2 separate regions of the Homo sapiens genome follow, and region 2 is linked to region 1. The links are contacts of gene promoters, found by promoter capture Hi-C in blood cells and fetal thymus (Javierre and others, 2016). All regions are on one chromosome and are shown on one strand. The core of a region is centred on a gene start or on the middle of the fragment in contact, and the rest is flanking DNA. Distances in the headings are between cores, read along the strand shown. Region 1 holds the start of ARHGAP31-AS1 (ARHGAP31 antisense RNA 1). Region 2 has its middle 4.8 kb from the start of LRRC58.

The links. The method cuts DNA at HindIII sites, captures the fragments that hold promoters and counts their contacts. A CHiCAGO score of 5 or more calls a contact.
Region 2: a fragment that was not itself captured here is called in contact with the fragment with the promoter of ARHGAP31-AS1 in region 1 in 1 of 17 cell types (non-activated CD4 T cells); the score reaches 6.1 in non-activated CD4 T cells.

What each region holds. Positions count from the first base shown.
Region 1 is chr3:119,320,689-119,325,796 of GRCh38, forward strand. ARHGAP31-AS1 (ARHGAP31 antisense RNA 1) reads right to left here and starts at 2,072. Exons shown (of 2, transcript NR_046748.1): 1 at 1,926-2,072. The region is part of intron 1 of ARHGAP31 (Rho GTPase activating protein 31); the gene reads left to right. RefSeq lists enhancers at 1,743-2,600, 2,601-3,457 and silencers at 2,020-2,379, 2,430-2,779. The HindIII fragment of the contact is 4,466 bases long and covers 1-3,853 here.
Region 2 is chr3:120,351,866-120,356,535 of GRCh38, forward strand. It overlaps the pseudogene BTNL12P. Among named protein-coding and RNA genes, the nearest start is that of LRRC58, 4.8 kb to the left of the region's middle. The HindIII fragment of the contact is 8,642 bases long and covers 1-4,670 here.

The DNA of each region.
Region 1 (5,108 bases), core at 822-3,321:
CGATCTCATCATTTTCTTTTTGTGTATTCTAAAACTCAGATGTTTTCTCTCCTCTGGCCTACTGTGGCATGCCCTTCCCTTTCACTAATATCTTGGACATTGATATGGTTTGGCTGTATCCCCACCCAAATCTCATCTTGAATTCCCACGTGTTGTGGGAGGGACCTGGTGGGAGGTAATTGAATCATGGGGCCAGGCCTTTCTCGGGCTGTTCTTGTGATAGTGAGTAAGTCTCACGAGATCTGATGGTTTTGAAAAACGGGAGTCTCCTTGCAAAAGCTCTCTCTTCTCTTGAGTGCCTTTAATCTTCCACCATGACTTGTGGCCTCCCCAGCCATGTGGAACTGCAAGTTCATTAAACCTCTTTCTTTTGTAAATTGCCCAGTCTCCAGTATGTCTTTATCAGCAGTGTGAAAACGAACTAATACAGATGTATAAACATTGACCCATCCTCTTTAACTTCCATATACCCTTTTTAAATTGCAGAAAAATCATTCAATTAGTGGAAAAATTGCTCAAGTAAATTTTATCATCTTTCACCCAGGCCCGGTGATTTCCTATTCAGCAGCAATTTCACATATATATATATACTATATATATATATATAGTATATATATATGTATTATGTATATATAATTATATACTATATATGTAAAATTTTAAAATCAATGTTTTCATACTTTTTAATAATACATGCTTATCCTCATTGTAGATAAATTGGGAAATACATAAATGTTTTAGAAAGAAAAAAATACTTGTATGTAATTCTATCACCCAAAGATGTAACATTTTGGTGGATTTCCTTCAAGTGTTTTTTTTCTATGTACATTTTCATATTGTGATTACACTGTGTGTGTGTATATATATATTATATATATATATGATTTTGTGTCTTGCTTTCTTATAACCGAAGTCTTTATTCAAGTTATAAAACCCTACATATAACATTTTAAGGCTCCGTAGGTTTTGTTTTGTTTTGAGACGGAGACTCGCTCTGTTGCCCAGGCCAGAGTGCAGTGTCACGATCTCAGCTCATTGAAGCCTCTACCTCTCGGGCTCAAGTGATTTTCCTGCTTCAGCCTCCCAAGTAGCTGGAACTATAGGCCCACACCACCACGCCCAGCTAACTTGTTTTTGTATTTTTAGTGGAGACGGGGTTTCGCCATGTTGGCCAGGCTGGTCTTGAACTTCTGACCTCGGGTGATCTGCCCGCCTCAGCCTCCCAAAGTGCTGGGATTACAGGCGTGAGCCACCACGCCCGGCCCATAGTAGTTTATCATATAAATATGCCAGTTTATTCCCTGCCTCCATTACTGGACATTTATAGTTATGATTGTTTTAATTTTATGAACAAGCCCACAGTGAATATTGTGAGGCATATGGCTCTTTTGTTATGTAATATTTCTTTGGAATAAACTCCCAGAAGTAAAATTGCTGGATTAAAAGGTGTGTTATTAGTCAGAACTCTCTTGGTTGTGACTGAAGGAACTCTGACATAAGAAAAAAAGTGGGGGTTAATTACTGATTCATAGAAGCAAACTTTGGCAAAGACAAGAAGGGAGCTGGCTTTAGGGAGCTGGGACCAGAGGCTGGAATTTTAACCTCCTGACTTTCTCCTTGTCTCTTGAATTTATCTTAGACATAAATGAAAATAGAGGTAACTCAAAGCGTCTAACCCACAGTGACAATTGCTGCTCTGTTTTTAGAGCCGGGATTTTGTTCGTGGACTTGCCTTGCCTGGTGGTTGAACTTTGCAGCCCCTTCCTCCTCCGGGCAGCTTCTCTCAGTGGCAGCTGTGTTCCCCATGGTTTGTCCTGGATGTCTCCCTTGTGCCATCCTTGCAAGCCCGCGGCCAGCGCCTCCACCCACGCTCCGGCCTTGCTCCCACTCCCACCGCTCTGCCACCTCCCACCTCAGCCTCCCACCTTGGTGTGGAGGGACCAGCGTCGAAGACAAAGGAATCTCTGACGAGAACCGGCCAGTCCGGGAGGGACGGCGGGGAAGGGGGTGCTGCTCTGGCGGAGCCCTCACTTCACTCGCTTCCCCTCGAGCGCCCCTCTAGGCTGGGGCCCGGCCGCTCTGGGCCTGCTCCTCCTCCCGCTCCTGTTGCGGGGCACCAGGTCAGACCCTACAGGGGGCTCCGCCAGGGGGAGGGGGAGAGGGGCTCCCTTCAAACTCGGCCCGGCCGCGGGGGTCCCGGGTGCCCTCTGCTGGGCTCCTTCCACGTCCTTGTCCCTCCTGAACTCCCGTTCCAGCCCTGCCCCCGCCCCGCAGTAGGGAACGGACTCGTTTCTGCCCCGCCCCGGGGTCCGGGCGCCCGCCCGGCGCTTCAGCTTCAGCAACGTCAAGGCCACGTTCCCTCCGCTCCAGCTCGAAAGACGGTGGCGCTGACTCTGCTCTGCGCGCCGCAGCTTCCTCCCGCTGCTCCGCCCAGCGGTTTCTGATCCCCTTTCGGCGCTGGGGACTCACACGCTGCGGCGACAGGAAAGCCCGCGCCCCCGGCCGCTTCCCGGAACGCCCTCGGGGACGGCTGAGTCACTTGGCGCCCGCCCGCGCGGCCACCGAGCCCAGAAGCGGGGAAAGCCCAGAAGCGGGGAAACCCCAGGGACAGCCGCCGGCCCTGGGGGCAGCCAGCGCTCCAGGCCGCCCAGCACCTCGGGCCCGGATGGGCTTCTCGCGCCCCAGGGCTGCGGCCACACCCCGCCGGCCCAGACCCCGCGGGTAGAGAAAGGAGGTGCAACCCTGAGAGCCAAGACGTTGGGCTTGGCTTTGCTTTGCGTTTCTTTCCTTTTTTCTTTTGTTTCTTTTCTTCTTCTTTTTTTTTTAACCACATCCAGGAAGAGGAGAAACCTGTCTCATGACAGGAAACGAAGAGGGAGGATGCATCCGAACTGAGGGACATTGTTTCAGTTGCCTCACCTGACATACTGTCTCACCTGAGAGAGGGAGGCCGAAGAGGCAGCCAATGGTGGCTGGAGCAAGCCCTGTCCTCGTTACCTGGGCTGTGGCTGAGCCCTGGGGCTCACCGGCTGTATGGCCCTGGGCAAGTCCTCGGAGCCTTAGGTTCTCTGCAAAATGGAGATGATGTTTAATAGAAAATGTTTCTATAACTTTTGTGGCTTACTTTTTGAAAAGCGAGGGAGGGACTTTTGTCCTTCCCTCCTCGCATCTCAGTCGCAGTGCTGGTTCACAATCAGGCTGTTAACGCGGTTTCCACATTTCCTGTCCTCCCCCTTCCCCTTTCCTGCTGGGAATAAGAAGGTGGGCCCCCAAGGAGACAGAGGGTACACTCGTAAATGAAAAAGAAAAGTCAGCACAAGGACCCTTTGCTGCGGAGATTTCTTTTTCCAGGTATCCTAAGTGGGGCTCTTGCCATCCCTGCCATCCCTGCTCTACACCGAAGGGGTGAAGTCCTGGGACTCTGTTATGCCCATCTGTATGTAATCCTAGGCAAGATTATTACAGTAGCGCTTTCCTCTTTTTAGAATATACCCTTGTCTAGCCCCTACCCCATCTTCAGGACAGTAAAGGTTCTCAACTCACTTCAAACCCTCCTAGCCGTCTAGAACAGTGGCTCACAACCGCAGACCCATAGGAAATGTAGGGCCATCTATGTAATAAATTTATCCGGATGTATTATAACAATTTTAAGGTTACACTTGTCCTTTCTTGAACAGGACAATTCTTTATTCTAAGACTATATGCTTCATAGTTTTAGTTATTTTGAATTGTCCATTCTGTTATGAAATACGATAGTTATTGTTGGTTGATGTCCTCTCTCAGAAAAATAAAAAATTAGCAGTCCTAGGTAGATCCCCCAAAATCTTTTAAACTTGATCTGTGAAATCCAAAAAGCTTGGGTACCATTGCTGTATTCCACATGTGGTTCACATCAAGGTTCCTTGTCCCTCCCAAGGAGATTTGTAGCTATTAAAAGAAACAAACAAACAAACATAAACAACAAAAACCCTTTCGAGAATCAGATCCTCAAAGAATGTTTAAGGATAGACGTGGAAAAACAAAGAGTGGGGAGAGGAGTCTTTCTCTACTCTCAACCCCTAGCCCTTAGTGTAGGTGAAGGCAGCACAGTTGTATCTATTCTAACTGGTATTTAGTATTGAGCATAACTTTTAATGGACGACTCCTTTTAGTAAAACAGAGAACCAATTTTGAATAAACCAAGGTCTCTTGGTCTCTCAGTTTGCAGATCAGCGGAATGGCTAAATGAAGGTGCTATACTTTACTTAAAAGGTGAAAATGTGTCATTTGGGTAAGCAATAAGCAGTACTCCTCATGTCAATAGTGGCATAGTGTGGACTTATATGATGCCGTCTTAAATTAGGCCTCATTGGTTAATGTTTATTGAACACTCTCAGTGTGTTTGGTGCTAATTAAAATATCTTCAAGTCACAGAATCACTGCCTTCTAGTAACTAGTGATGCAGCAAGCTGTAACTGTTGAATCATACCTACCTATATCAACACAGATACTACACATGCATATTCATCTTTTTTGGATGCTAAGATAAAATTTTGCTTAAAATTCTTACTTAGTTGTGTGGGAAGTAGGGGAAAGGAAGATTTTTAAATTTGAAATGGTTGTCCTAGGATAGGAAACCATCGCAGCTGTCATGCACATTAATATTTTAGAAACACATTCACATATCATCTCTGTTGATCTTCCCAAGACGCTGTGACTCTACAGGCTGATTTCAGAGATGTTGTTCCCCCTTTACAGGCAACATATTTTAGTGGCTTGCCCAAGGAGGCTTACCTAAGGCCACACTGCTGGGTCGGGAGTCTGCCCTGGGTCTGCCTCTTCCCACTCACACTGTTGCAGTCCTGTATTCTGGGAAGGCCTCTATGGGCCAGTCCCAGAGCCTTTGAACCAGGGGAGAAAGGGTGGAGGGGAAGCTAGCTTCTCCTAGTTCTGTATACCCAAGAATCCACCTGGTGGGGATGGCGGGGGTTGGGGGGGAAGGGGGGGACGGAAATGACTTAGCCTGAAGGCAGGCTGTTTGACAGCTAGGGCAAAACAGTGGCGAGAAGAAACTCAGGGAAAGGAGAGAGGAGCTACCAGTAATTTTCAAACTTCGCTTAATATTAGAA
Region 2 (4,670 bases), core at 1,539-4,038, 1.0 Mb after region 1:
GGGAACTCAAGCTCAAAAATGATGAGTAAAGTCTGCTATCACAGAGAGTGAAAGGCTAATTAGAAATTCAGCCTTAGGGCTGTGTGGCTCCAAAGTCTATGTTCTTTCCACTACACTACACTGCTCTCTTGAGCTTAGTTTTTTTTGTTTTTTGTTTTAAATGATTCAAAGCAATAAGATCTTCCAAATAGTGTCAGTATTACAAGTGGCATCTATCCATTGATGGTACTTTGAAATATTGTGATTGTTGGAATTATACGGCACTTGTCTTAAGGATTGGGGGTTTTGTGGGCTTCATACACAAAACTGGAGCAGAGGCACCTGAACCAAACATAATTTGGGGTGCTGTCCTTGTATCATATGACGTCACTTTAGAACCTATGTTGATCGGAGCCATAGTGGACATCTGACCAAGGTAAGCCCATCAACAGACTGCCTGGTGGCCTGTCACTTATAAGGCACTGCCCAAACAGAAGCAGAGATTATTTTTTTTTCTCACTCGCCCAGGAATTTAATCCAAAGAACCCAGAGGGAAATTCCAGTTGGTGGCAGATCAGAAAGAAATTACAGTTGAATCAGAAAGAAGCAGACATGGGGAATGTCGCTAATTTTTTGTCAATTGTGAAACATAAGTGTGAAGATTCATAAAATATTGCTGCTGAAATCTAGGACTGCCTCATATCCAGAGTAACGCACCAGGTGCAGCTTCACTGAGGCCAACTTGTTAACAGCTGGATTAAATGTGAGCATCTTCTTACTGCCCAGTATAATAACCCTTCTCTATCTTAGCTAACGTGGATGTATCTCTTTTCACTGCAGCCAGATGGGTTTAAATGAAGCAGCATCCCCCAATCTTACAGTGGCCCTTGAAACCCTCCAGTCAGCCTGGAGAATACTGAAAACTTTCTGGGAGGTAAAAGAGCTGTGGTGGCTTGTGAACCCCCACAGTGATGGGGTTCATCTGTGGCTAGCTGAAAGAGATGCCTGAGAGGGGAGTGGAGGCACTGGAGAAGGTAAAGGACAGAGGAGACAACAGAATATGTTACATAGGGAAAGGAACATGGGTTACAGGGAACTGGGAAAGTACATGGCCTGTTTGTCCACTTATCAGAACTTCACCATTATGTCAGGCTTGGCCAATTGAATACATTTCAAGATAAGTCTCTTGACTGGAATAGTATTGGACATTTAGGAGACCAAATGAATTCTCCTCCTCCTTCAGCTACCCTTTCTAGGCTTCCTGAAGGCAGGAACTGCATCTGTTTACCATGGTATCCCCCAAGACATCGTAGGCAGCAAATAGTGAGTGAACGCAATAAATGCATGAATAGTTTTTGACATACCTTACTTAAATAGGCCCTATTGACCTACTGACTGCAGAAAAAACAAGAAATAATCTAAGTAGAGAATCCTTTCATAAACCATTCTAGTTAGGAGGCAGCATACTGATGCAGTTAAAAGAGTGGGCTTTGGTTTTTATCAGATACAGGTTTCAAAACCCACCTCTGGAAATCAGATTTCTCTTACTTAATCTTGATTTTGTTACTTAATTTCTGTAAGGCTTGATTTCATCATCTGTATTATAAAATATATTATCTGTTCCATAGGGTCATTGTAAGGTGAAAATCTAAAGTGCTTAGCATAGTACCTAGCACAAAGTCAATACTCTGTAAGTAGTGGCAATTATTATTATTAGCTGTAATAGTAGTTAATGTTATAACTATTGCTCTCTGCCACTTGTTATATCATGATCAGGGTAGAAAAACAAAGTTGAGAACAGTCTTTACTCATGATTGCACAATTTCCTACATAAACCATGGTCCTCTGCTCTGGGCCATTCTGTGTCTTAGGGATTAGGATTTGGGAGGTTGGTCTGACCTCTCTTGCCCAAGATTTATGCTTATTGTCTTTTTTGTCTTCAAGGTATATCAGGACCTCATGCCTGCTAAACCCACTCCTACCTTTATTTTAGCCACCTCTGATTCAGACTGTCCTTTCTAAAGCACTGCTTTCATGATTTCAACCCATCTCTTTTCCTCCTGCCTTTACCCCATGTTTCCTCATTGCTTATCAGATGAAGGCCAGTTGCTTAGGCTAGCATGCAAGGTTTTGATTTATTTCCACTGCTAAATCCCTCTCAGTCTGGTTTATCCATATTGGCCTAGGATGGTTTAAAGTTCTGCCATCTCCCTGCCAATTGTCCAAATCTCAAAAACCGGTTACTCTATGTTTAGGGCAGCATTGAAAGTAGAAGGAGCTATAGTCTTTCAATCGATCCTGAGGAGGAGTTGGCTTCTATATTTATAGGGACCAAGAGTAAGTCTTCAGCCAGTTTTGTGATATAAGGTCTAGCAGTTTGATTTTCAGCAGTTCTTCCTCTGCCACAGTTTGCTATTGCTGTAGAATTGATAGATTAAAATGTCTCCTGAAATATGTCTCCGGGCTTCTTTATCGAAGTTTAGTCCCTTTTATTTTGAAGATTCAAATAATGACATCTTTGGATATCTTTGGAGTCTTTGACTAAGCATTTGTTAGAGCTATAAAAGCATCTTCATGGCTACTCCCGTTGAATTCACTCCATTTAGGGGTTTATCTTAGACCCGGTGCGGTGTTTTCCTTATTGATTGTTTTGGGAGTTGAAGTGACTATCTTTTAAATTTTATCCACTTGCTCAGCTTATGTTGGTTCCATATTGGCTTGTTTGACCTTTTCATAGATAGCTAGTCATAACTACAACTATAAATGAGCTAAAATAATTTTAATCCCTAATTCATTCACAGATAGACATTGAGTACCTACTGTGTGTAAGAAACTGTACTATATATTGCAAGGTATAAAAACTAGTAAGAATAATAGGTAATGTTTATTGGTTATTTTATAAGTGCCAGGCACTGTCCTAGGGGCTCTGTCTAGGGATTATTTTTATTTAATCCTCACATCCCTTCTATAAGGTACATATTATTATCATCATTCTTCAGACAAGAAAACCGAGATGTGGGAAAATTAACTAACTTGCCAAGTCACATATTTATGGTGTGCTGGATAACAACATAGTAAAATGTTCATGATTTTGTTCAAATACAATCACTGCCTTCAAGAGATTTACTGTCTGGTAACAGAGATTAAACATGAACCTATAAAGAAATCCAAGTTAAAAAGGGCAAAAGATCTGAGTAGACATTTCTCCAAAAAAGATATAAAAATCACTGATAAACACATGAAAAGGTGATCAACATCATTAGCCATCAGGGAAATACAAATTAAAATCACAGTGAGCTACTACTCATACCCACTAAGATGGCTAAAATATAAAAGACAGCTAGTAAGTGATGGTGCAGATGTAGAGAAATTGGAACCCTTATAGACCAATACTGGGGATGAAAAAGTGGTGCAGCCACTTTGGAAAATAGTCTGGCTGTTCTTCAAAAGGTTAAAAAAAATAGTTACCATATGATCCAGCAGTTCTACTCCCAGGTATATACCCAACAGAAATGAAAACATACGTCGTCACAAAAACTTACACATGAGTGTTCATAACAGCATTTTTCATCATAGTCAAAAAATAGAATCAAACCAAATCTCTACCAACTGATGAAGGATAAATAAAATGTGGTATTTACATACAATAGAACATTATTCAGCAACAAAAAGAAATGAAGTGCTGATACATGTTACAACATGGATGAATCTTGGAAACATTATTCTGACACATAAGTGAAAGAAACCAGTCATAAAAGAACACCTACTGTATGATTCTATTTATATGAAATCCTCCAAAATAGGCAAATCTTTAGAGACAGAAAGTAGATTAGTGGTTGCCGAGAGCTAGAGGGAAGGGAGAATGGGCAGTGGTTGCTAATGAGTACAGGGTTTCTTTTTGGCAGGATGAAATTGTTCTAAAATTCATTGTGGTGATGGTTGTACAACTATGAATATACTACTAAAAAATCATTGAACTGTACACTTTAAGTAAGTAAATTGTATGATAGGAAAATATATGAAGTATATATCAATAAAGTTATTTTTAAAAACATGAACCCAAAGTAACTAAAATATAAAATAACATTTGGTAACTCATACAGAAACATAACCAAAAGCTATCAAAGTTCAGAGGAAAAAGACCATTTAGGCTACCACAGTTAGGATAGCTTTCAGAGGACAATGGGATTTGGATAGAGCTGGGATGAAATATACAAAATTGAAGGAAAAAAGAAAATATTTCTTACAAAGCATAGCAAAAAGGAGAAAATTATAGCATATATTTGGGAAATGGTAAGGGGTCTGGTTTGGTTGGCATGCTTAGTGCTGATGGTTAGAATAGACAAATATTGATATGCTTTAGATAATTATGGGAGAAAATATTTAAAATTTTAACTTTGCCCCCAAAAATCTAAGGTGTACTGTTAAGATACAGCACAGAGGAAGAGTAGTAGACTTTGAAATGATAGGTGTGTCTAGGCCTTGGAGAAAGAGGTATGAATACTAGGTAGGAGATCACCTCTGATTCTGCCCTCACTGGAAGCTCCAGATCCCATTTCCTTAACTTGTGTTCTTTATTAGCCTTGCAGTCTTTTCACGAAGACTGCAAGGCTTGGGAGAGTCTGTGGATTGTGGCACCTGTAGAAATAGTCTTATATCTGAGTACAAAGTATTCCTCATGGTTTCTCAAT